Regions from separate parts of the Homo sapiens genome. Here all the other regions are linked to region 1. Evidence: promoter capture Hi-C in human tissues and cell types (Jung and others, 2019). All regions are on one chromosome and are shown on one strand. Each heading gives the region's core, a stretch centred on a gene start or on the middle of the fragment in contact. The rest is flanking DNA. Distances are from core to core; before and after follow the strand shown.

Region 1 (3,340 bases), core at 592-3,091:
TTCTTCTGCTCAGTTGCGAGGCCCATTGATGTTTCCTGTGGCCTAGCTCCTTTTTATTGCCGAGGGCTACTCTGTTGTATGAAAACCACAATTCATTTCTCCCTTCTCCTTTGGTGAACATTTGCACTGTTTCCAGCCTGGGGCAATGATGAGTAAAGCTGTTAAAAACAGGCACATATGTTTTCCTTTCTCTTGGGTAATTTTTTAGAAGTAGAAAAGCCAGAACATAGAAGTAGATATTTGACTGTATTACAACTCACCAAGCAGTTTTTCTTTTTATTTTTTATTTTTCAATTTTTTGAGACAGAGTCTTGCTCTATTACCCAGGCTGGAGTGCAGTGGCGTGATGAGGGTTCACTACAGCCTTGACCTCCTGGGGTCAAGTGAGCCTCCCACCTCAGCCTCCCATGTAGCTGAGACCACAGGTGTGCACCACCACACCTGGCTAATTTGTTTGTTAAATTATATGTAGGGACAGGGTCTTCCAACCTTTCCCGAGCTGGTCTCAAGCTCCTGGGCTGAAGTGATCCTCCTGCCTCAGCCTCTCAAAGTGCTGGTATTATAGGCATAAGCCACCACGCCCTGCCCATTTTTCTAAGTTGGATTATTTTACACTCCAGTCTGCTGTGAATGAGAGTTCCAGTTGTTGCGTATCGCAATCAATTTGTGATTGCCTACAAATGATGTGCCGTGATGAAATTGTCCCTGGTGTCCGAGAGGATCGCAAAGAATTTCCCTTCCTTTCTCTCCTTTCTGCTCCCCTTGTACTGTCTACTCCTTAAACTGGTACTTGATCCAGGAACATAATGGGGATGGACAGTGCAGATGGCACACATGGCCTCAGTCTATTGGAGCATCTCAAAGGAATTAGTCTGCAAATTCTAGTGCATCTAGGTGGAGCACAGGAAGGAAGAGAGGTGCAGACTCACGTATGGCCCTGGGGCACCTGCCATCCTCTCGCACCCGTACAGCCCTTACCTGCCAGCACTTACCCTACCCAGCTTGAGTTCTGGGCCTTCTCACCAGCACATCGCTGGGACCTGGTCGACTTCAGGTAAGTTTATTTCATGGCTCCCTCCCCCACGACCTGCACATGCCATATGTTCCTTCCCAGCCCCATGTCACTTGAAATGTTCTATCATGTCCAAGACTTCTCTCCTCATCCTAAAGTGCAGAAAATAAGGATGGAGAAGAGAAGGAGAAGAGAATCAAGAGAGATTCATTGAGAGGGAGGATCAGAAGCTCCTGGGCACCCCATACTGTAGAATAAAAATATTCATTATGGTGTTTTTCTTGCAAAATATTCCCCTCTACATAATTATGTTTTTACATGAATAATATAAATTTAAACAGGAGAAATACTTTTTGAAGAGTCTGAGAATCTTCATAAAGTTCAGGCGGCCACGAATTAGCTGTGTGACCTGGGGCATGCCCCTTAGACTCTGAGCCTCAGCTTCTCTGTATGTAAAATGGGTTGAAGCCGCCCTTCCCCACAAGCACCCTGTGCACAGGCAATGCCCAGCCCCATTATTTTCTGGACTCCGTGGCCAAGCATGCTTAGGACACACAGCCACATACTTCTGGGCAGTGTCATCTGGCAACTTGCTGTCATGTCAGTGTGGTCAAGCATTGTAGACCTCTATGAACCAAATATGCTTCAGGCTTGGGTTGAGCACAGGAGAGGGAGGAGGGAAAGGTCACTGGGGCTGGGAGTGCCTACTTCCCTCTGTGAGTGTCACCCCAGTCCACCCAGTACCATACCTTTCTCTCTCTGGACCCACTTCCTTTTGCTGCCGGCTCCTCCCCATTGAATAACAGCCAAGTTGCTTTGGTTTCTATTTCTTTGTTAAGTCGTTCCCTCTACAAAGGACTTCCTAGTGGGTGTGAAAGGCAGCGGTGGCCACAGAGGCGGCGGAGAGATGGCCTTCAGCGGTTCCCAGGCTCCCTACCTGAGTCCAGTGAGTTCCAGGGCTATGGGCACAGGGCTGCCTCAGCCAGAGGGACACAGCTCTGGGGCTCTGAGGAAGCAACTCCTGGGTGGCAGGGGATGGGGGTGGGGGCATCCCAAAGAGAACACAAGCAGGGCAGAAATATCAGAGGAGGTCATCCTGGCACACCTGTGCCGTGCTGAGCTCACTCATGCCTGGAGGGATGCTCCTTCCCACGAGTCATGGCTTTGACAGTGTTGACTGAGCTGTCCTGTCCTGTCCTGTCCTGTGTGCTCAGGGGAAGACATGTAGAGCGGGGTGGTTCATGTAAAGAGGAAGCAAGCACGCTTCTGGGACAGTAAGGACGCTACCCGGCATGGTAGTTAAGGGTGCTTACTGTGAAGGTGGCCTCCCTGGGTCCAGCTATTTACTGGCTGGTGGTCTCTGGGCCTCAGTTTCCATATCTGTGAAGTGGGAATAATACTTGAGCCCCCCACTCCCAGGGTTGGGATATGGATTAAGGAAGTAGTGTATCTAGTGTGTTTGAACAGTGCCTGACACACTGTAGGTGCTTTGGGAGTGTTTCATGTTATTGGGTGTCTGAGGGCAGCAGGGAAGACCTCCCGAGGAGGTGTCTGTGCTCTGAAGGTTGGGCATGGGCATGTTCAGGGCATCTGTGGAGGGGCAGTCTCAGAGGTGAGAGGGGGGTGAGGACTGTCCCTGCAGCGTGGGGTCAGAGGGCGGCAGGTGCCTTGCTGAAACCCTGTGAGGTTTATGAGTCCCCTTCATACACGGAAAATCTGAGGCTCAGGGAGGCAGAGGCCAGTTGCCAAATGCCTCCAGATGGGAGTGGCAGCCCCAGGAGCCCAGGAGACTTCAGGGGTCACTGTGTCCTGGGCCGGCTCCTGTCATAGGATCTCACCCCGCCTTGGCAAAGAGCTTCCCGAGGGGCTGGAGAGGGTGGGCTGATGGGTCCTTCCTGGGTGGGGAGGCAGGGTGGGGAGGGTGGGCAGAGGCAGGGTACTGAGGGAGGGAAGCTGCCATGGCCCACCTCAGCAGAGGCCAGGGTCGGGCTTGAGTGCCCCCTGGTGACACTGAGTCCAGAATGAGGCTGCCTACGTTCTGGTCTGCAGAGCTCGGCTCTGCTTTCTAAACTCCAGAGAGAAAGAATGGGGAAAGGAGGCCTGTTTCCTCCTGGCTGTCACCAATGACACCTCAGCCACCCTGTGGAGGCCCCTGAGGTAGGACCTGCACAGAGGGGGCTGGGGGAAGCTGGAACAGGCCGCTGGTGGGGGCCTTAGGGTCAGCAGGTGCTGCCTTGGGCATGTCACCCTGTCTCTGGTTTTCTGTCAAAGAGGGGATCCCAGAGCTTCTTCCAGGTTCTGACATATTATTATTCTGGTGACTGGTTT
Region 2 (3,772 bases), core at 1,205-3,704, 320 kb before region 1:
AACAAAGAAGGCAGAGCCAGGATATAACTAGAAAAAGGATGTCTTTTTTTTTTTTTTTACTCCCCCTCTAAACACTGCTGCTGCCTTAATTTTAGAAAGCAGCTTACTAGTTTACCCTTGTGGTATAAAGTATTATAAATTGTTGTGAATTTGAAGAATCCGTCTACTGTATTATTGCTAAATATTTTGTTTATACTAAGGGACAATTATTTTAAGACCATGGATTTAAAAAAAAAAAAAAAAACTCTGTTTCTGCAGGGGATGATATTGGTGAGTTGCCAAAGAAGCAATACAGCATATCTGCTTTTGCCTTCTGTTGTTTATCTTACCTGCAGATATTAAGAATGTATGCATTATGTAAAATGCTCAATTATATATTTTTGTTGAGTTTTTTAATTAAAGACTTGTAAAAAAAAAAAACAGTATATTGCAAATGTTTCTTAAATAGGTTAGGTGGAGTACTTTCTCTCTGTCTCCATTGTAAGGTTGATGGTACACCACAGGCAAATTAAGCAAAAAGGACAATGAAGAAAGAATGCAGGACTCAGGCGCTGCTCTAGAATTCATTCAGGGCTCCCCGAGTGCAGCAGCTCTTATGGTGGTTTTGTTTTTAGGAGAACTGTTGTAATAATGCATATTTTAAAAGCATAGGGAAGCTCTAGAACACAGGAAGGTGACTACTAAGCAAGAGAAAAGTATCTTTTAGTGGGGAACTACCAGCCTATAGTAAGTCTATCTGGTTAAAGTAGTTATTATGAAAATCTAGCAGTCTGGGTCCTTTGAGAAGGCATTAAAAAAGCAAAACTCTTATGAGCCATGTGTGATTTTGAAGACTCATTTCCACTGAGAAATTATTTGGAAGTTCCTATGGTTAGCTCTGTTAAGGAATGTAAAAATTTATAGGGGGTGTAGGGTTATCAATTTGAAAGCCAGTAGAAAATCTGCTCAAGTTACTTCTTGAGGATCATCTGTATTTTACAAAAAGAAGCACAAGAAGCATCTAATCTTTATACTTCTTGTGACTTTTTTTCCCCTGCATTTTACTTTGTAATATATCGGCTTTATAATTTTAAAATACACTGGCCGGGCGCAGTGGCCCACACCTATAATCCCAGCACTTTGGGAGGCCAAGGCAGGTGGGTCACTTAAGGCCGGGAGTTCATGACAAGCCTGACCAACATAGTGAAACCCCTGTCTCTACTAAAATTACAAAAATTAGCTGGGCATGGTGGTGGGTTCCTGTACTCCTAGCTACTTAGGAGGCTGAGGCAAGAGAATTGCTTGAACTGGAGAAATGGAGGTTGCAGTGAGCTGAGATCACGCAACTGCACTCCAGCCTGGGTGACAGAGTAAGACTCTAAATAAATAAGATACCATTACTTTTCATATCATTGCATTATTTTTGCTTTCCACACCAACATATCCAGTCAAGTAAAAACAGCTTTTTTTATTTTTTATTTTTTATTTTTTTTGAGACGGAGTCTCACACTGTCACCTGGGCTGGAGTGCAGTGGTGCGATCTTGGCTCACTGCAGCCTCCACCTCCTGGGTTCAAGCAATTCTCCTGCCTCAGCCTCCCAAGCAGCTGGGATTACAGGCGCTCCCCCACCACGCCCAGCTAATTTTTGTTGTATTTTTAGGACAGACGGCGTTTCACTGTTGGCCAGACTGGTCTCAAACTCCTGACCTCGTGATCCGCCCGCCTCGGCCTCCCAGAGTGCTGGGATTATAGGTGTGAGCCACCGAACCTGGCCCAAAACAGCATTTTTGGAAGCTACATTCTGTGAGATGTTCACCTGTTTGCCACCTCTTCTCGTGAAAACCATAGTGAGTGCCAGTGTGAAAGGAAGATTGCAGCGTATATGTCAAGTAGAAACATGTTTGAATTTTCCATTTGTCTGTGGGGAAGAAGGTAATAACAGTAATAACAGACTGAAGGACCAAAGGAAAATAGGGAAGACGTTGATTATGGACTTGGATCAGATTCTAGCTACATGATTTGAAAATGACACTGCCTCTCCTATTTTGCCACAAGCCTGTCATTTGGAGAACTGGCAGATCATTTATGTTCAGATTTAATTTTCTGTTTTAGAATCCCATGGAGTACATGTGAACATAGGAAAATCACACTCAGCAGCCAAGCTATCCTTTTGCGATAATGAAATCACTTTAAAACCTATAACTTGATCTTAGGTTGGCAAATCTTAAACTTAACGATCCTTGAAATTTCCTGCCTGCTGTGACTGTGATGCAGTTGGATTCAACTGGTTTACACTGCTCTTGGGTCGGCAAGACCAAAAAAGGTTGGACTGCACTGTAGCATGCTTATGGGTTGAGGCAGTGGCAGAGGCAGAGGACTTGGCCGTCAGCCAGCCAGCACAGGCGTAAGAAAATAGCATGAGAAGTTTCACGAGCCTGAAACCATTGAGACAGTGATTACAACCTCCATATTAATCAGATGAGGGTTTGTAGGTGACATAGCATTTTACCCAAGTAATTCTGAACAGACTGTGGCTTATGATAATACATTTTAACTAGCAAGTGTGTGGACTATAAAACAAATATCTAGAGTTATATATGGATGTACTATCATTTGGTGATAAAAGCATAGAAAAAGCATAAGTTGGAGTATACTGGGTTTTTTTGTTGTTGTTAAATTCTTTTCCATCAGAAGTAAGAGCTGTTGGCAGCAACTAATAAAATGCAACCTAGTGACATGCTCGTCATAACCTTGGCAGATGTTTATGGTAAGATGCTTGGAAGGAATGAACGTAAGTAGGCAATCTCAACCTGCCCTTTGATCCATAAAGCATTCTTTAGCCACCAGCAAAAATCTGGTCTGAGCCAGGTATAAAGTGACCTGTTTTATTACAGGTGGGTGGGGTAGCTTTGTGTGGTTGTTTTTTGACATTATGTATGCTTTTATTTTTTACTTTGAGGTAGGATCTCGCTCTGTCACCCAAGCTGGAGTGCAGTGGTGCAATCTCAGCTCACTGCATACTCTGCCTCCCCTGGTTCAAGTGGTTCTCGTGCATAAGCCACCTGAGTAGCTGGGATTACAGGCGTGAGCTGGGCCAATTTTTGTATTTTTAGTAGAGATAGGGTTTCATCATGTTGGCCAGGCTCGTCTTGAACTCCTGGCCTCAAGTGATCTGCCCATCTTGGCCTCCCAAAGTGCTGGGATTACGGGCATGAGCCACAGTGCCTGACCAGTCTAGGCTTATCTTAACAGTTGAGGAATCAGAAAATGATTGAATAGGGCTGGAATTGGAGAAGGAAAAAATGATTTAATTCAATTTTTATCAACTCCAGCACTATTTTCTCTATTAGAGACTACTGTCATTATCCTTCTGGTTTCTGTTTTAAAGATACTGATTAAGGAATTTTCTTTATAGTTCCACATAACAGTTGGTCTTCTGGTCTGAAAGTAGTATTACAGGTTTTGTTAGGAAAACCTATAATACAGTGTTGCCTGTCACCGTCATTATAGTGAGTTTGTGTTTGTTTGGTTTTAAATAAGGCTGAAGCATCAATGGCTCTTTCTGAAAAAATTGTTCTCCAAAAGTAAAGTGTGAGCTATAGAAATCATCTAGAACAGGGGTGTCCAATCTTTTGGCTTCCTTGGGCTACATTGGAAGAATTGTCTTGGGCCACACATAAAATACACTAACTGATGAGCTTAAAAAAGAATTACAAAAACAATCTCATAATGTTATTAAGAAGGTTTACGAATTTGTGTTGGGCCACGTTCAAAGCCATCCTGGGCCACATG
Region 3 (3,227 bases), core at 261-2,760, 270 kb before region 1:
ACGTGGTGAAACCCCAACTCTACAAAAAATACATAGATTAGCAGGGCATGGTGGTGTGTACCTGTAGTCCTAGCTACTCGGGAGGCTGAGGTGAGAGGATCAGTTTGAGCCCGGGAGGCTGAGGCTTCAGTGAGCAGACATCACACCATTGTACTCCAGCTTGGGCACCAGAGTGAGACCCAATCTCAAAAAACAAAAGCAAAAAGACAAAAACCCAAAGAATAAATAAATAAAAGGAGGAACGGTGGACAGAGGGAAAAAAGGAAGGGACTTATTAATTAATTTGCTCCTCACCTTCCGCACATTCGCTTGAAAGAGACCTGTTGCTTTAAATGCCACCCCCAAGGCTGGGAGTTTGTCAACCCCCACAGAAGAGGAACGCTGGGCTGGGGCCAGCCCTACAGAGACTCATCGCCATTCCACCTCTGACCATAGCATCACACCCAGTTTCTGCTTGTTCTGTTTTTTGTTGTTGTAAATTTTATGATTCAATATACATGCCCAAAATAATCAAAATCAGAAGTTGACAGTTTGATGAATTTTCAACGTGAGCAGATCCACGTAAGCGCACCCAAATTAAGAAAGAGAATGCAAACAGCTCCTGCCCTGTGCTGCCTTCAGGCACTATGCTCCCTAAGGCTGACCCTTCTTCTAACCCTAGCAGCATTAATTTTCCTGCTTTGTATTTTATTTTATTGTATTAATTTAATTTAATTTTATATTATGTTTTTTTATTATTTTATTTTATTTTGAGACAGAGTCTTGCTCCATTGCCCAGGCTGGAGTGTAGTGGCGCTATCTTGGCTCACTGCAACCTCTGCCTCAACCTCTGCCTCCCAGGTTTAAGTGATTCTCCTGCCTCAGCCTCCAGAGTGGCTAGGACTAACAGGCACACGCCATCATGCCTGGCTGATTTTTGTATTTTTAGTAGAGACAGGGTTTCACCATGGTGGCCAGTCTGGTCTCGAACTCCTGGCCTCAAGTGATCCACCTGCCTCGGCCTCCCAAAGTGCTGGGATTACAGGCGTGAGCCACCGTGCCCGGCCTACTTTATTTTATTTTATTTTGTGAGATAAGGTCTTGCTCTATCACCCAGGCTGGAGTGCAGTGATGTAATCACAGCTCACTGCGGCCTCCACCTCCTGGGCTCAAGTGATCCTCCCAGCTCAGACTACAGGCATGTGCCACCACGCCTGGCTGATTTTTTTGTCTTTTTGCAGAGACGGAGTCTAATTGTTTCCTAGGCTGATCTTGAACTCTTGGGCTCAAGCAGTCCACCCGACTTGGCCTCCCAAAGTGCTGGGATTACAGGTGTGAGCCACCGTGCCTGGCTGTATTTTATATAAATATAACATTACAATATATATTCTTTTGGCTCTAACTTCTTCTGGTTAATGCTGTGTACGTGAGATTTATTCATGTTGTGGTTCATTCATTCTCATTGCTCTATAATATATTCCATGGTATAAGTAAGCCACAATTTCTTTATTCATTCTGTTGCTGATGGATGTTTAAGTGATTTCCATTTGTTGGCTATTAAGCATATTGCTTCTGTGACCATTCTTGTACCTGTCTTGGGAAACATATGTGTGTATTCATGCTGGGTATGTACCTAGATGTGGACTGCTGGGTCAGAGGCAAGGTATATGCTCAACTTAGCAGAAACTTGCCATTTTCCAAAGTGACTGGAACAATTTTCGCTTCCACGGGCCATGTATGAGAGTTCCGGTTGCTTGTCGTGCTCACCAATACTTGGCCGTACCTGTTTTTCATTTGTTCACTTTATTTTTTGTGTTGTATGTTTTTGGCCAGCTATTCTGGTGGGCGGATTGTTCCATTTTTGACCACATGCTCCTTCCCCCTGGCAGTCTGCTCCAGCTCTGTTTCTGGTACATTCTGCAAAACCAACTTCTCTGGTTCTTGACTCTTGTCCTATAGTTCTTTTTGTTTTTGTTTTTAGAGGTGGGGCCTCACTCTGTTGCCCAGGTTGGAGTGCAGTGGCATGATCATAGCTCACTTCAGCCCTGACCTCCTAGGCTCAAGTGATCCTCTTGCCTGAGCCTTCTGAGTAGCTGGGACCACAGGCAGGCACCACCACTTCTGGCAAATTTTTTTTATTTTTATTTTTTTAGAGATGAGGTCTTGCTATGTTGCCCAGGCTGGTCTCAAACTCCCTGGCTCAAGCGATCCTCTAGCCTTGGCCTCCTGAGTAGCTGGGATTACAGGCATAAACCACCATGCCCTGTGCCTTGCAGTCTTGCTCTAGGGTTTGTCTTCAACCCTGCAGACCTGAGACAGGCCTCTCAGCTGCTCTCAAGAACGCCCTTCCATGAGAGGCATTCCAGCCTCAGGTGGCAGCTCCTGCAGGATATGGACCCCGGGGATAAGGATGGGGAAGAGGATGAGGGTGTCGGGAGCTGTCTCCAAAGCCTGCGCAGGCCCTTCCCACAATCTCATCTTACTCATTTAGCCACTTTGTGGGCCCCCATCTTATTATACTCAAAACGTTGGGTAGACATAAAGCTAAATATACGTGCTAAAACTATTAAACTCTTAGAAGAAAATAGAGGGGAAAATATTCACTAGATTAGGTTTGGAAGTCATTTTTTAGCTATGACATCCAAAGCATAAGCAACCCAAGAAACATTTGATAAATTGGACTTCATCAAAATTTAAAACTTTCATGCTTCAAGGGACACTGTGAAAAGAGTGAAAAGACAACCCACAGAATGGGAGAAAATATTTGCACATCATAAATCTGATAAAGGACTTGTATTTAGAATAGAGAAAGAACACTTGGAACTTATATGTTAGTGCGAAAGTAACTGCGGTTTTGCCATTAAAAGTTTGCCATTACCTTTAACAGCAAAACCGCAATTACTTTTGCACTAATCTAGTAATGTGATCTGATCAAAGCCACCAGAAGCTGGAGGAGGACTGTGGCCCTGCTGACACTTGGGTTTCAGGCTTGTAGCCTCCAGACCTGTGGGAGAATAAATGTCTTTTGTTTCAAGCCACGAAGTTTGTAGCAATGGCAGCCCTACGAAATGAATGCAGGAAATTACACTGATGTAGCAAAACGTTTGAAAGCCTGTTTCCCTAAGTACGTGTGTGTGGGTGTGGGTGTGGGGGTGTGTGTGTGTGTGTGTGTGTCCCTGTCCTTGCATGTGTGGCGGCTGCTGCCTTCCCCTCACTCCCAACTTCCACCATTCAAATAACCTCATCTA
Region 4 (3,737 bases), core at 1,225-3,724, 360 kb before region 1:
GTTTTCATGCCCAGGTGGATCAACACACGACAAAAAATGGAGGTGCGGTTCCCCACGCCAGCAGCAGGTCCTCAAGTGGACCTCAGGGCATTGAGGGCAGCAGTGTTGCTCAAGCACCTCGAGCTTCCTGGGCTGTCCAGGTTTTGTTTTAAGCTGGCTTACTGTCCTCTGTGTCATGTGATCTTGCTTTGTTCTTAGTCTACACGTTTAAATTCTTGTCCAAAATCTGTTTTTGTTTTTTTTTTCACTCCTGACATCATGCATATCCCAATCTTTACTTGTCTGCTAGTCTCCAACAGGATTTACAATGACAGTCTCTTAACAACCTGGTCTCCCTGCTGCCATTCTTGTCATCCTCTCCATTCTCAGCTTGGTAGCTGGAAGGAACTTTGAACAATGGAAACCTCCTCTTAATATCCCATTGTTGGCTGCTCTGCCTATGGATAGTCATTCTTTATTCCTTTACTTTCTTAATAAACTTGCTTTCACTATATAGAGATAGAGATAGAGATATCTCCCAATGTCTTCCTGCCATCCTTAGCACAAGTCAAATCTCTTATCCTAGTCTGTACTGCCTTGTGTGATCTAGCCCCTGCCTTCCTCTCTGACATTACCTGCTACCTGCTACTGCTCTCCTTGCTTTTTTCGCTCCATCCATATGACTTCCTCTTTCTCAAACACCCTGAGCTCCTTCTGCCTCAGAGACTTTGGAGAAGCTGGGCTGGCTGCCTGGGCTCCACCTTGTCTCACCTGAAATGCTACCTTCTATTGCTAAGCCTTTCCTGATCTATCAGTCTAGAGGGCATGCTCTCTGCTGAAGCCACTTTCTAGCATATCATTGTGTTTTATTTTTTTTCACAGAATACATCTCCATCTAGAATTCCCATGAGTCTGTTTCTTGTTTGTTTGTTCATTCCCTGTCTCCCTCCAGTACAATGAAAGCTTCATGACTGCAGAGACCTCATCTGCCTCCATAGCTGCTGCATTGCCAACACCTAGAACAGTTTCAGGGACATAATAGGTGCTCAATAAACATTCATTGAAAACACAAACAAGCAAACTTCCCAGCATCGCTGATCTCCCACTTGCCACTTGGATTGATTGCATGCATGCTTGAATTTGCTCCTCTGTTATGGAGACTCCACCCTCCATTTACACCTCTTTCTGGAAATCCTGATAAACCTCTCAGATCAAGCCCTGTCCCTGGAATTTTCTCTAGCACTGGGAAAGGAAAGCTCATGCACAGTTTGACTTTGTGTGTTTAAACTTTTGGTGATTGGAGTAACTGCTTCCTATTTCACAGCCACTCGACTCTGTAGAGAAATATTTCTATAAGCATTTTGCCCTCAGTCTTGCTCCTTCTGCATGTTGACTTTGTGCTCTGAGACAACAGCCCTGCTTCCTGGCAGCACCTGAGCCTCACATCCAAGGAGGCCACCAACAGTGACGTGCTGATTCTCCCTCCTAAGTTTCTGTTTGAAAACTCCTGGAGGACGCCGGGTGTGGTGGCTCACGACTGTAATCCCAGCACTTTGGAAGGCCGAGGTGGGCACATCACCTGAGGCCAGGAGTTCAAAACCAGCCTGACCAACATGGTGAAACTGTCTCTACTAAAAATACGAAAATTAGCCAGGCTTGGTGGCATGAGCCTGTAATCTCAGCTACTCAGGAGGCTGAGGGAGGAGAATCACCTGAACCCGGGAGGCAGAGGTTGCAGTGAGCTGCAATCATACCACTGGACTCCAGCCTGGGTGACAGAGTGAGACTCCATCTCCAGTAAATAAATAAATAAATAATATGGTTTGGCTGTGTCCCCACCCAAATCTCAACTTGAATTGTATCTCCCAGAATTCTCACATGTTGTGGGAGGGACCCAGGGGGAGGTAATTAAATCATGGGGGCGGTCTTTCCCAAGCTATTCTCGTAATAGTGATTAAGTCTCGTGAGATCTGATGGGTTTATCAGGGGCTTCCACTTTTGCTTCTTCCTTATTTTCTCTTGCTGCCACCCTGTAAGAAGTGCCTTTCACCTCCCACCATAATTCTGAGCCCTCCCCAGCCATATGGAACTGTAAGTCCAATTAAACCTCTTTTTCTTCCCAGTCTTGGGTATATGTTTATCAGCAGCGTGAAAATGGACTAACACAATAAATAAATAAATATTTTTAATTTCAAATATGCAGCTTTTAAAACCAGGTTGGGAAAACTTCTTTAATTTTTAAGATTCAAGAAGTTTTTTTTAAATGATGAGAAATGTTCCCAATTACATTTCAAAGCTACGATGTGGCAGTTACAGTTCTAACGCAGTTATTTAAGAGCAAAGCTTGTGAAACGTATCACTTCTGACAAATTCTTCACTTTCCTCAGTTATGGTTAAGGCTCTCTTGAGTCCTCTCAAATTCTAACCATTCTATTTGTGGCCTGAAACCTTATCCCAGTTGTCCACATCATCTTTAAGCCAGCAACCAAGTAGAAAGGACTGTGTTTATTGTACTTCTCAAAACGTGGGATAGCAGAATCACTTGACGTGGTTGTAAAAACACAGATTGCTGAGCTGCACCCTAGGCATAGTAACTGGAGGGTCTCTGGGGGTGAGTCCAGAACATTTTTTTTTTTTTTGAGGCAGAATCTCACTGTGTTGCTCAGTCTGGAGTGCAGTGGCAAGATCTCAGCTCATTGCAACCTCCGCCTCCCAGGTTCAAGCGATTCTCCTACCTCAGCCTCCCGAATAGCTGGAATTACAGGCATGTGCCACCACGCCCAGCTAATTTTTGTATTTTTAGTAGAGATGGGGTTTTGTCATGTTGGCCAGGCTGGTCTCGAACTCCTGACCTCAGGTGATCCACCCACCTTGGTCTCCCAAATGCTGGGATTACAGGGGTAAGCCACTGCATCTGGCCCAGAGCACTTTTCTTAATACTCAAAATTTTATAGGTATCCAGCTTCACCTACCCTACCCTCTACAGAACAGCATGCATTGTTCTTACTTGTTAAACATTACAAATAGCAATTCTCAGATTCCACTGTGGTGATGAGAGACAAACTTAAGCCTACGTACTTAAAAATAAAGCAAAAGAAATTTATTTAAATGCCAAAAAGTAAGAAAATACACGCAAACTACTAGAGAGATCATTCATTTGAAGGTCTTTGGTTTGTGTTTGTTTTATTTTAAATAAGATGTTCATTTAAAATGAAGGGGTTGTGCATTAAAAGTCTTGCTCTGCTATATTTTATTTTATTTTGAGACAGAGTCTTACTCTGTCACCCAGGCTGGAGTGTAGTGGTGCAATCTTGGTTCATTACAATTGCCACCTCCCAGGTACAAGTGATTCTTTTACCTCAGCCTCCCAAGTAGCTGGGATTACAGGCAAGTGCCACCATGCCTGGCTAATTTTTGTATTTTTAGTAAAGATGGAGTTTCGCCATGTTAGCCAGGCTGGTCTTGAACTCCTGACCTCAGGTGATCCACCAGCCTTGGCCTCCCAAAGAGCTGGGATTACAGGCATGGGCCTCCCAAAGTGCTGGGATTACAGGGTTGAGCCCCCACACCCGGCCTATTTTATTACTTTATGGTACGAGGAATACAATTTCAGAAACCTTGATTCATCCAGCAGTTTTCTTAATTTGGGCAAATGTCCCTGATGATGGATTTCTATGTAGTTTCCGGAGATTAAATACCACTATTATTCTTTTTTTCTCATACAAATAATTTTTCCCAAAAGGTGCACATGGGGTCCC
Region 5 (3,238 bases), core at 31-2,530, 380 kb before region 1:
TGTACTAAAAGTACAAAAATTATGGCTGGGCACAGTGGCTCACTGCTGTAATTCCAACACTTTGGGAGGCCAAGGCAGGCGGATCACGAGGTCAGGAGTTTGAGACCAGCCTGACCAACATGGTGAAACCCCGTCTCTATTAAAAATGCAAAAATTAGCACTTTAGAGAATCTCACGGTTCCAAGATGGCCGAATAGGAACAGCTCTGGTCTGCAGCTCCCAGCACAATCGACACAGAAGACGGGTGATTTTTGCATTTCCAACTGAGGTACCTGGTTCATCTCATTGGGACTGGTTGGACAGTGGGTGCAGCCCATGGAGGGCCAGCCGAAGCAGGGCAGGACATCAGCTCAACAGGGAAGTGCAAGGGGTTGGGGGGATTCCCTTTCCTAGCCAAGGGAAGCCGTGACAGATTGCAGCTGGAAAATCGGGATACTGCCACCCAAATACTGCACTTTTCCAATGGTCTTAGCAAATGGCACACCAGGAGATTATATCTCACACCTGGCTCAGCAGGTCCCACGCCCATGGAGACTTGCTCACTGCTAGCACAGCAGTCCGAGATTGAGCTACAGGCGGCAGCCTGGCTAGGGGAAGGGCGTCTGCCATTGCTGAGGCTTGAGTAGGTAAAAAAAAGCAGCTGGTAAGCTCGAACTGGGTGCAGCCCACCACAGCTCAATGAGGCCTGCCTGCCTCTGTAGACTTCACCTCTGGGGCAGGGGATAGCTGAACAAAAGGCAGCAGAAACTTCTGCAGACTTGAACATCCCTGTCTCACAGCACTGAAGAGAACAGTGGTTCTCCCAGCACAGTGTTTGACCTCTGAGAACAGAAAGACTGCCTCCTCAAGTGGATCCCGAACCCCTATGTAGCCTAACTGGGAGATACCTCCCAGTAGGGGCTGACTGACATCTCAAATAGGTGGGTGCCCCTCTGGGATGAAGCTTCCAGAGGAAGGATCAGGCAGCAATATGTGCTGTTCTGCAATATTTGCTGCTCTGCAGCCTCCACTGGTGATACCCAGGAAAACAGGGTCTGGAGTGGACCTCCAGCAAACTCCAACAGACCAGCAGCTGTACCTGACTGTTAGAAGCAAAACTAACAAACAGAAAGGAATGGCATCAACATCAACAAAAAGGACATCCACACCAAAACCCCATCTGTAGGTCACCATTATCAAAGACCAAAGGTAGATAAAACCACAAATGGGGAGAAATCAGAGCTGAAAATTCTAAAAACCAGAGTGCCTCTTCTCCTCCAAAGGATGGCAGCTCCTCACCAGCAATGGAACAAAGCTGGATGGAGAATGACTTTGACGAGTTGACAGAAGTAGGCTTCAGAAGGTCAATAATAACAAACTTCTCCGAGCTAAAGGAGGATGTTTGAACCCATCGCAAGGAAGCTAAAAACCTTGAAAAAAGATTAGATGAGTGGCTAACTAGAATAAACAGAGTAAAGAAGACCTTAAATGACCTGATGGAGCTGAAAACCATGGCAGGAGAACTACGTGACACATGCACAAGATTCAGTAGCCGATTCGATCAAGTGGAAGAAAGTGTATCAGTGATTGAAGATCAAATTAATGAAATGAAGCAAGAAGAGAAGTTTAGAGAAAAAAGAGTAAAAAGAAACGAACAAAGCCTCCGAGAAATATGGGACTACAGGAAAGACCAAATCTACATTTGGCTGCTGTACCTGAAAGTGACAGGGAGAATGGAACCAAGCTGGAAAACACTCTTCAGGGTATTATCCAGGAGAACTTCCCCAACCTAGCAAGGCAGGCCAACATTCAAATTTAGGAAATACAGACAACACCACAAAGATACTCCTCAAGAAGAGCAACCCCAAGACACATAATTGTCAGATTCACCAAGGTTGAAATGAAGGAAAAAATGTTAAGGGCAGCCACAGAGAAAGGTCAGGTTATCCAGAAAGGGAAGCCCATCAGACTAACAGCTGATCTCTTCGTCAGAAACTCTATAAGCCAGAAGAGAGTGGGGGCCAACATTCAACATTCTTAAAGAAAGGAATTTTCAACCCAGAATTTGATATCCAGCCAAACTAAGCTTCATAAGTGAAGGAGAAATAAAATACTTTACAGACAAGCAAATGCTGAGAGATTTTGTTACCACCAAGCCTGCCTTACAAGAGCTCCTGAAGGAAGCTCTAAACATGGAAAGGAACAACCGGTACCAGCCACTGCAAAACCATGCCAAATTCTAAAGACCATCGACACTATGAAGAAACAGCATCAACTAATGGGCAAAATAACCAGCTAACATCATAATGAAAGGATCAAATTCACACATAACAATATTAACCTTAAATGTAAATGGGCTAAATGCCCCAATTAAAAGACACAGACTGGCAAATTAGATAAAGAGTCAAGACCCATCAGTGTGCTGTATTCAGCAAACCTATCTCACATGCAGAGACACACATAGGCTCAAAATAAAGGGATGGAGGAAGATCTACCAAGCAAATGGAAAGCAAAAAAAAGCAGGGATTGCAATCCTAGTCTCTGATAAAACAGACTTTAAACCAACAAAGATCAAAAAAGATAAAGAAGGCCATTACATAATGGTAAAGGGATCAATTCAACAAGAAGAGCTAACTATTCTAAATATATGTGCACCCAATACAGGAGCACCCAGTTTCATAAAGCAAGTCCTTAGAGACCTACAAAGAGACTTAGACTCCCACACAATAATAATGGGAGAGTTTAACACCCCACTCTCAATATTAGACAGACCAACAAGACAGAAGGTTAACAAGGATATCCAGGACTTGAACTCAGCTGTGCACCAAGCTGACCTAATAGACATCTACAGAACTCTCCACCACAAATCAACAGAATATACATTCTTCTCAGCACCACATCGCACTTATTCCAAAATTGACCACATAGTTGGAAGAAAAGCACTCCTCAGCAAATGTAAAATAACAGAAATCACAGCAAACTGTCTCTCAGACCACAGTGCAATCAAATTAGAACTCAGGAATAAGAAACCCACTCAAAACTGCACAACTACATGGAAACTGAACAACCTGCTCCTGAATGACTACTGGGTACATAATGAAATGAAGGCAGAAATAAAGATGTTTTTTTAAACCAATGAGAACAAAGACATAACATACTAGAGTCTCTGGGACACATTTAAAGCAGCGTGTAGAGGGAAATTTATACCACTAAATGCCCACAAGAGAAAGCAGAAAAGATCTAAAACTGACACCCTAAC
Region 6 (3,501 bases), core at 74-2,573, 430 kb before region 1:
GAGGATTCATTTGACAGAGTTAAATCTTTGTTTTAATTCAGCAGATTGGAAACACTCTTTTGTAGAATCTGCGAAGGGACATTTCGGAGCCCATTGAGGCCTATGGTGGAAAACCAAATATCCCATGATAAAAACTAGAAACAAGTTATATGTGAAAATGTTTTGTGATGTTTGGATTCATCTCAGAATTAAACCTTTGTTTGGTTTCAGCTTGTTGGAAATACTCTTTTGGTAGAATCTTCAAAGAGACATTTTAGAGCCCATTGAGGCCTACAGTGGAAAACCGAATATCCCACAATAAAAACTAGAAACAAGCTATCAGTGAAAATGCTTTGTGATGTGTTTATTCATTTTACAGAGTTAAACCTTTGTTTTGATTCAGCAGGTTAAAAAACACTCTTTCATAGAATCTATGAAGCAATATTTCTAAGCCATTGAGGTCTATACTGAAAAACTGAATATCTCACGATAAAAAGTAGAAACTAGCTATTGGTGAAAATGCTTTCTGATGTGAGGATTCATCTCACAGAGTTAAACCTTGGTATTGATTCAGCAGGCTGGAAACATCCTTTTTGTAAAATCTACAAAGGGATATTTTGGAGACCATTGAGGCCTATAGTGAAAGACCAAATATCCTGTGATTAAAACTAGAAACAAGCTATCCATGAAAATGCTTTGCAATGTTTGGATTTATTTTACAGGGTTAAACCTTTATTTGGTTCAGTAGGTTGGAAACACTCTTTTTGTAGAATCTATGAGGGGACATTTTAGAGCCCATTGAGGCCTACAGTAAAAAACCCAACATCCCACTATAAAAACTAGAAACAACTATCTGTGCACATACTTTGTGATGTGTGGATTCATCTCACAGAGTTAAACCTTTGTTTTGATTCAGCAGATAGGAAACGCTCTTCTTGTAGAATCTAAGAAGGGACACTTCAGAGCCTATTTAGGCCTATAGTGAATAACCACATATCCCGTGATAAAAACTAGAAACAATCTATCTGTGAAAATGCTTTGCTAAGTGTGGATTCATCTCACAGATTTAAACCTTTATTTTAATTAAGAAGGTTGAAAACACTCTTTTAGTAAAATCTACGAAAGGCAGGTTGGAAGCACTCTATTTTTAGAATCTACAAAGGGACTTTTTGGAGCCCATTGAGGCCTATAGTGAAAAAACCTATATCCCAAGATAAAAACTAGAAACAAGCTATCAGTGAAAATGCTTTGCCATGTGTTCATTCATTTCACAGAGTCAAACCGTTGTTTTGATTCAGCAGGTTGGTAATGTGGGCAGCAAGCCACCCAGGCACCGAGGCAAGAGACAGAGGACACAAGCTGTTCCAGCATAATAAAATATAAAACAAGAATAGTTATACCAGATATAGATCTTAGATATGATTATATATGAATATCATTAATCATTGGTTTGTAGTAATTACTTTTTATTCCAATATTATGATAATCCTCACTCTATAACATAGCCTAGGAAAAACCAGGCCATACAGAGATAGGAGCTGAGGGGACATAGTGAGGTGTGACCAGAAGACAAGAGTGCGAGCCTTCTGTTATGCCCGGACAAGGCCACCAGAGGGCTCCTTGGTCTAGCGGTGACACCAGCATCTGGGAAGACGCCCATTACCAGGCGGATCATGGTCCAGCGGTAGCAAAAGGCATCAAGGAACAACACCCGCTACTTAGCAGACCGGGAAAGGGTGGGGGGGGGGGGGTCTCCCTTTCCCCAGGGGAGTTTAGAGAAGACTCTGCTCCTCCACCTCTTGTGGAGGGCCTGACATCAGTCAGGCTCGCCCGCAGTTATCCGGAGGCCTAACCATCTCCCTGTGATGCTGTGCTTCAGTGGTCACACTCCTAGTCTGCCTTCATGTTCCATCCTGTACACCTGGCTCTGCCTTCCAGATAGCAGTAGTAAATTAGTGAAAATACTAATAGTCCCTGATATGCAAAATAATGGCGTAAGCTGTCTTTCCTTTTGTCTCCTCTCCCTCTCTGCCTCAGCTGCCAGGCAGGGAAGGGCCCCCTGTCCAGTGGACACGTGACCCACGTGACCTTACCTATCATTGGAGGTGACTCACATTCTTTACCCTGCCCCTTCTGCCTTGTATCCAATAAATAACAGTGCAGCCAGACATTCGGGGCCACTACTGGTCTCCGCACATTGGTGGTAGTGGTCCCCCGGGCCCAGCTGCCTTTTCTCTTGTCTCTTTGTCTTGTGTCTTTATTTCTACACTCTCTCATCGCTGCACACAGGGAGAGACCTACCGACCCTGTGGGGCTGGTCCCCACAGTAAGACTTTTTTATAGAATCTACAATGGGACGTTTCATAGCCCATTGATGCCTATAGTGAAAAACCAAATATCCCGCAATAAAATCTAGAAACTAGATATTTGTGAAAATGCCTTAGGATGTGTGTGCAAACACAGCCATGTTTGCTAAAGGGAATAGCACAAAGATAATCTGACCCAGATGGCCCATATCCATCCTCAGCCTCAGATCCTGGTGAGTCTGAGCCTCTCCCCAGCTCCTGCTACCTCTGATGGGTCTTCAGGACTTGCTTGTCATAGCAGGGCTGATACTCCTGCTGAGTTCCCCCATTTGAGTGAGGACATGTCTGGAGAGAGGAGAGAGCTGGAACAGAGTCTTCCCAGTGATTTCCAGTGACTCAAAGAGGTTTTCCCAAAAGTCTTATAGTAGAAGATAGAGAAAGTGGGGCATTACAGAGAAAGCGGGGCGTTCAGGGCCAGACCTTAGGAGAATCCTCTACCCCAACCCAGTGAAGGCCTAATCTTGTGCTACTTTCCCTTGTAACACTGGGAGAATCAGATTCATCAAGAACTTTCACCTTTCCTCTACTGAATTTCGGTTCCCTTTCCAATGGTTCCAACATGCCCAGTAAAGTGAGTTGTTCCATCTGTACAACCTGGGGTGGTGTGGTGAAGGGGAAAGAGACCAGCTCCTTCTCCCACTTCCCAGTGAGGCCTATGAAGAGGCAACTAGACTCTTTCTACCAAGTGGATGAACTCAGGCCTAGAGTTGGAGTTAGCAGACCACTGTGCAGAAGCCATGGCCCTCAGCAGAGATAGGAACAATGAGAAACAAATGTGTGACTATAGGAACTGCTTCTTTTTTTTTTTTTTTGAGATGGAGTCTTGCTCTTTTGCCCAGGCTGCAGTGCAGTGGCATGATCTTGGCTCACTGCAATCTCCACCACCTGTGATCAAGCAATTCTCATGCCTCAGCCTCCCAAGTATCTGGGATCACATGCACGTGCCACCATGCCTGGCTAATTTTTGTATTTTTAGTAGAGATGGGGTTTCACCATGTTGGCCAGGCTGGTCTCAAACTCCTAGCCTCAAGTGATCCACTGCCTCAGCCTCCCAAAGTGCTGGGATTACATACAGGATGTGTTCTAAGTGGACGACTCAAGGTATACATAAAACCAAGCTTTCTGTTTATACTTGTGTTAGAAGAAGCTGACCTCA
Region 7 (3,393 bases), core at 708-3,207, 300 kb before region 1:
GCCTAAGCTACAGAGTGAGACTCCATCTGAAAAAAAAAAAAGAGAGAAAAGAAAAGAAAGAAGAGGAAGGGCTACTGCACTCTGGACTCAGTGCCCTCCTTGGTCTCACACCCTTGCTGACCTCCCTCCTGGCACATGAGGTCTTCATGCTGCTCAGGCCCATGGCTGACCTCCTCTCCTCTGGAGTGGTCCATCCCTACCAGATCTCCTCCTGTCCAGCTGAGCAGACCAGGCCTATACAGGCTGCTTCTGGCTCCACTGAGGCCCAGGAGCTTACACCTTTGGACCGGGTGTCAAAAGTGTCCTTCTTATTAGCAAAAAGAATTTTGGAGGGAAAAACAAATGACATCCTCAGACATCCTAGGGCAGAGTCAGAAGCAGAGAGGAGACTGAATGGGCTCGGGTGGGTGTGGAAGGTCACTGCAGGCCGCCATAGGACAGGCCTGGGCTCACAGGAGCAGGATGTGGGGAGGGGGATTGCCAGGCAGGGGTGGGGACCAAAGTGAAGGCCACCTGGTGGGAGCCAGTCAGAGGGGTGGGGCAGGGTTAGATCACAAGGGAATCCAATGCCAGGGGGCCAGGGGATGTTTTGCAATGTGGGCAACTGAACCTGAGATGTGACAAGACCAGTGATTTGGCGACCTGCCCAGGCAGGCCCAGCCCCCAGGGTATTGAGATGACACATTCTAAACTCAGGTGACCCGGGCCTTGGGAGTGCACTAGCAACTGGCTGTCAGTCACGGGGCTCTTCAGATATTTGTCACGTGAATGAGCCAGACAGTAAGTGGAGATGCCCTTCCTAGTCACCTACTGCCGGCGTTCACGCTGTGAACCAGCGAACTAGGCCACCGGCCTGACCCAGTTTTCCCTGTGGCCTGCCAAGCCAAGGAGAAGCAGACGCGGCCGGCGCAGGCGTCCAGGGTGACTCGGAGGCGTGGCTCTGCAGTCGCGGCTCTGCAGTCGCCTTGGAGCGGCTGCCCTTCCGACCCCGCCTGGGCTATGACTCATCTTCGGTGGAGGAGAAAGGGGCCTTTGTGAGCGCCCAGCTCCGGCGTCTCCTGGACAGCACCGCCCTCCGGTGGCCGCGAGTCAGGAGGGCTGGGGAAGCCGCCCGAGAGGCAGCGCCCGAGCTCCCCACGAGCTGCTGTGCCATTGGAAGCGCCAGCGCCCTCCCCTCGGAGTCCAGCCAAGTCGGGGGGAAGACTGGGAGAGAAATCGTCACCCCCTAGAGGGCAAGTGGGCTCAGCCCTAGGAAATGCTTGTTTCTCCAGCCCCTCCCAGACGCCCCGGGGAAACGGCATCCCAGAGCTCCGCTCCCTGGAGGCCCCTCCAGAGAGGGACCCGGGGCCCCGCCCCGCAGCTGGAGAAGGGGTGAATGCCTTTCCTACCTAACGCCTGGTCCGCGGCCCTGCTTGTTGCGTCTCCAAGACCACGTGTCTGCTGCATTTTAAAAATAGTTGTGAACATCTGACTTTCTCCTTTTGTGAGTTGCCTATTCATATCCTTGGTCTGCTTTTCTATTTTCTATTTTTTCTCTTGTTGACGTACAGAAGCACTTTAAAAATGTCAGTTCTGTCGAATGTGTTGCAAATATTTTTCTAAGCTTAGAATTTTACCTTCTGATTTTGTTTTTGGTGATATTTGATACACCACACGACATTTTGATGTGGGATGACCTTTTGATGTTTTTCTTTTTCTTTCTTTAGTTTTTTATTTTTGAGTCAGCGCCTCACTCTGTCACCCAGGCTGGAGTACAGTGGCGTGATCTTGGCTCCCTGCAGTCTCCGCCTCCCGGCTCAAGCCATCCTCCCACCTTAGCCTCCCTAGTAGCTGGAACCACAGGTGCACACCACTACGCCCGGCTAATTTTTGTATCTTTTGTAGAGAGGAGGTCTCGCTATGTTGCCCAGGCTGGTCTTGAACTCCTGGGCTCAAGCAACCTGCCTGCCTTGGGCCTCCCAAAGTGCTGGGATTACAGGCTTGAGCCACTACTCCCGGCCTTGATGTTTTCCTTTATTCTTTCTCCCTTTTGTTTTTTTTTAATTGTAAAACTGCTCCCATCTGAGTATCACACAGACATTTCAGATCTATATTTTTTCTTTTCTGCTCCTCTTCCCCCCTTCCCTTCCTCCATTTCCTCTTACTCCTTCATTTGGCTTTTAAACCCACCTGGGACTAATTTTGATATAAACTGGAAGATAAAGATCTAAACTTATTTTTTTCTGAATAGTCAACTTTTCATATGTCATTATTCAGGCTTTCTCTCTTGTTTGTTTGTTTGTTTGTTTTGAGACAGTCTTGCTTTTGTCTCCCAGGCTGGAGTGCAGTGGCACAATCTCTGCTCACTGCAACCTCGGCTTCTCAGGTTCAAGCGAGTCTCCTGGCTCAGCCTTCCCAGTAGCTGGGATTACAGGCGCGTGCCACCATGCCCGGGTAAGTTTTGCATTTTTAGTAGAGATGGGTTTTCGCCATGTTGACCAGGTTGGTCTTGAATTCCTGACATCAAATGATCCACCCGCCTCGCCCTCCCAAAGTGCTGGGATTACAGACGTGGGTCACCATGCCCAGCCCAGCCTTTCTCTTTTAGTAGAATATTTCCTCACTGGTTTGAAATATCACTTTGATTATAAACTAAATGCTCGGGCCTATTTCTGGCCAGGACCCTGACCTTATACATTAAGCCAAAGGATATGGACTTCTTAAAAAAATCATATTAGGCCGCTAATTATGGATTTAGGACATTTATTCACATTGTTTTAGGCTCCAACTAAAAGCAGGCTTGAATGAAGCAGCTGCACAGGAAAACTGGATAGGAAAGATTTCATTTAAAAGGACATAAACATTTTAAATTCTTTTTAAAAATTTATTATTATTTATTTTTAATAGAGACAGGGTCTGGCTTTGTTGCCCAGGCTGGCTTTGAACTCCTGGGCTCAAGCAGTCGTCTTGCCTCAGCTTCCTAAAGTGCTGGGATTACAGGCATGAGCCACCACACCTGGCCAACATTTTCTTTTCTTTTCTTTTTTTTAATTTTCTTTTTTTTATTTTATTATTATTATACTTTAAGTTTTAGGGTACATGTGCACAATGTGCAGGTTAGTTACATATGTATACATGTCTGGCCAACATTTTCAATTCTTATTATACAAAATGTCAAACCTTCCTCCAGAATGGACATAAATAGACTAATGCATATCCTCCCAGAAGCATATGAGAATGCCCTTTTCACTACACCGTTCTGAGGTTGAGTATTATTTGTAAAACTATGTCCTAGTTTGAAAGGAAAAATAGGATCTCATTGTTCTCTCATAATTTGCATTTCTTTAATGCTTGAGAGTGAATTTTTTCATGGTCATTTATAAAATACCTAGATATAAGCTTGACACAAAATGT

Evidence for each region. The method cuts DNA at HindIII sites, captures the fragments that hold promoters and counts their contacts. A contact is called where the count stands out against the background at its distance.
Region 2: a contact is called between a fragment that was not itself captured here and the fragment with the promoter of LGALS9 in region 1, in 5 of the 25 tissues and cell types used here (H1 embryonic stem cells, lymphoblastoid cells, mesenchymal stem cells and 2 more).
Region 3: a fragment that was not itself captured here is called in contact with the fragment with the promoter of LGALS9 in region 1 in 3 of the 25 tissues and cell types used here (lymphoblastoid cells, mesendoderm cells and spleen).
Region 4: a contact is called between a fragment that was not itself captured here and the fragment with the promoter of LGALS9 in region 1, in 3 of the 25 tissues and cell types used here (hippocampus, lymphoblastoid cells and mesendoderm cells).
Region 5: a contact is called between a fragment that was not itself captured here and the fragment with the promoter of LGALS9 in region 1, in 4 of the 25 tissues and cell types used here (bladder, lymphoblastoid cells, mesenchymal stem cells and 1 more).
Region 6: a fragment that was not itself captured here is called in contact with the fragment with the promoter of LGALS9 in region 1 in 4 of the 25 tissues and cell types used here (aorta, lymphoblastoid cells, small bowel and 1 more).
Region 7: a contact is called between a fragment that was not itself captured here and the fragment with the promoter of LGALS9 in region 1, in 4 of the 25 tissues and cell types used here (dorsolateral prefrontal cortex, lymphoblastoid cells, spleen and 1 more).

Annotation. Positions count from the first base shown.
Region 1 is chr17:27,629,347-27,632,686 of GRCh38, forward strand. LGALS9 (galectin 9) reads left to right here and starts at 1,842. Exons shown (of 11, transcript NM_009587.3): 1 at 1,842-1,958. The coding sequence starts at 1,920. RefSeq lists enhancers at 1,467-2,284, 1,752-1,871. The HindIII fragment of the contact is 14,549 bases long and covers 1-3,340 here.
Region 2 is chr17:27,313,212-27,316,983 of GRCh38, forward strand. It overlaps WSB1 (WD repeat and SOCS box containing 1), which reads left to right. Exons shown (of 9, transcript NM_015626.10): 9 at 1-2,715. Among named protein-coding and RNA genes, the nearest start is that of LINC03146, 17 kb to the right of the region's middle. The HindIII fragment of the contact is 8,167 bases long and covers 1-3,772 here.
Region 3 is chr17:27,357,708-27,360,934 of GRCh38, forward strand. No RefSeq gene overlaps it. Among named protein-coding and RNA genes, the nearest start is that of LINC03146, 27 kb to the left of the region's middle. The HindIII fragment of the contact is 7,286 bases long and covers 1-3,227 here.
Region 4 is chr17:27,268,749-27,272,485 of GRCh38, forward strand. No RefSeq gene overlaps it. Among named protein-coding and RNA genes, the nearest start is that of MIR4522, 23 kb to the right of the region's middle. The HindIII fragment of the contact is 6,167 bases long and covers 1-3,737 here.
Region 5 is chr17:27,249,036-27,252,273 of GRCh38, forward strand. No RefSeq gene overlaps it. Among named protein-coding and RNA genes, the nearest start is that of MIR4522, 43 kb to the right of the region's middle. The HindIII fragment of the contact is 3,454 bases long and covers 1-3,007 here.
Region 6 is chr17:27,196,126-27,199,626 of GRCh38, forward strand. No RefSeq gene overlaps it. Among named protein-coding and RNA genes, the nearest start is that of MIR4522, 96 kb to the right of the region's middle. The HindIII fragment of the contact is 6,719 bases long and covers 1-3,501 here.
Region 7 is chr17:27,331,945-27,335,337 of GRCh38, forward strand. It overlaps LINC03146 (long intergenic non-protein coding RNA 3146), which reads left to right and starts at 551. Exons shown (of 3, transcript XR_007065677.1): 1 at 551-1,483; 2 at 2,316-2,433. RefSeq lists an enhancer at 602-1,151. The HindIII fragment of the contact is 3,899 bases long and covers 9-3,393 here.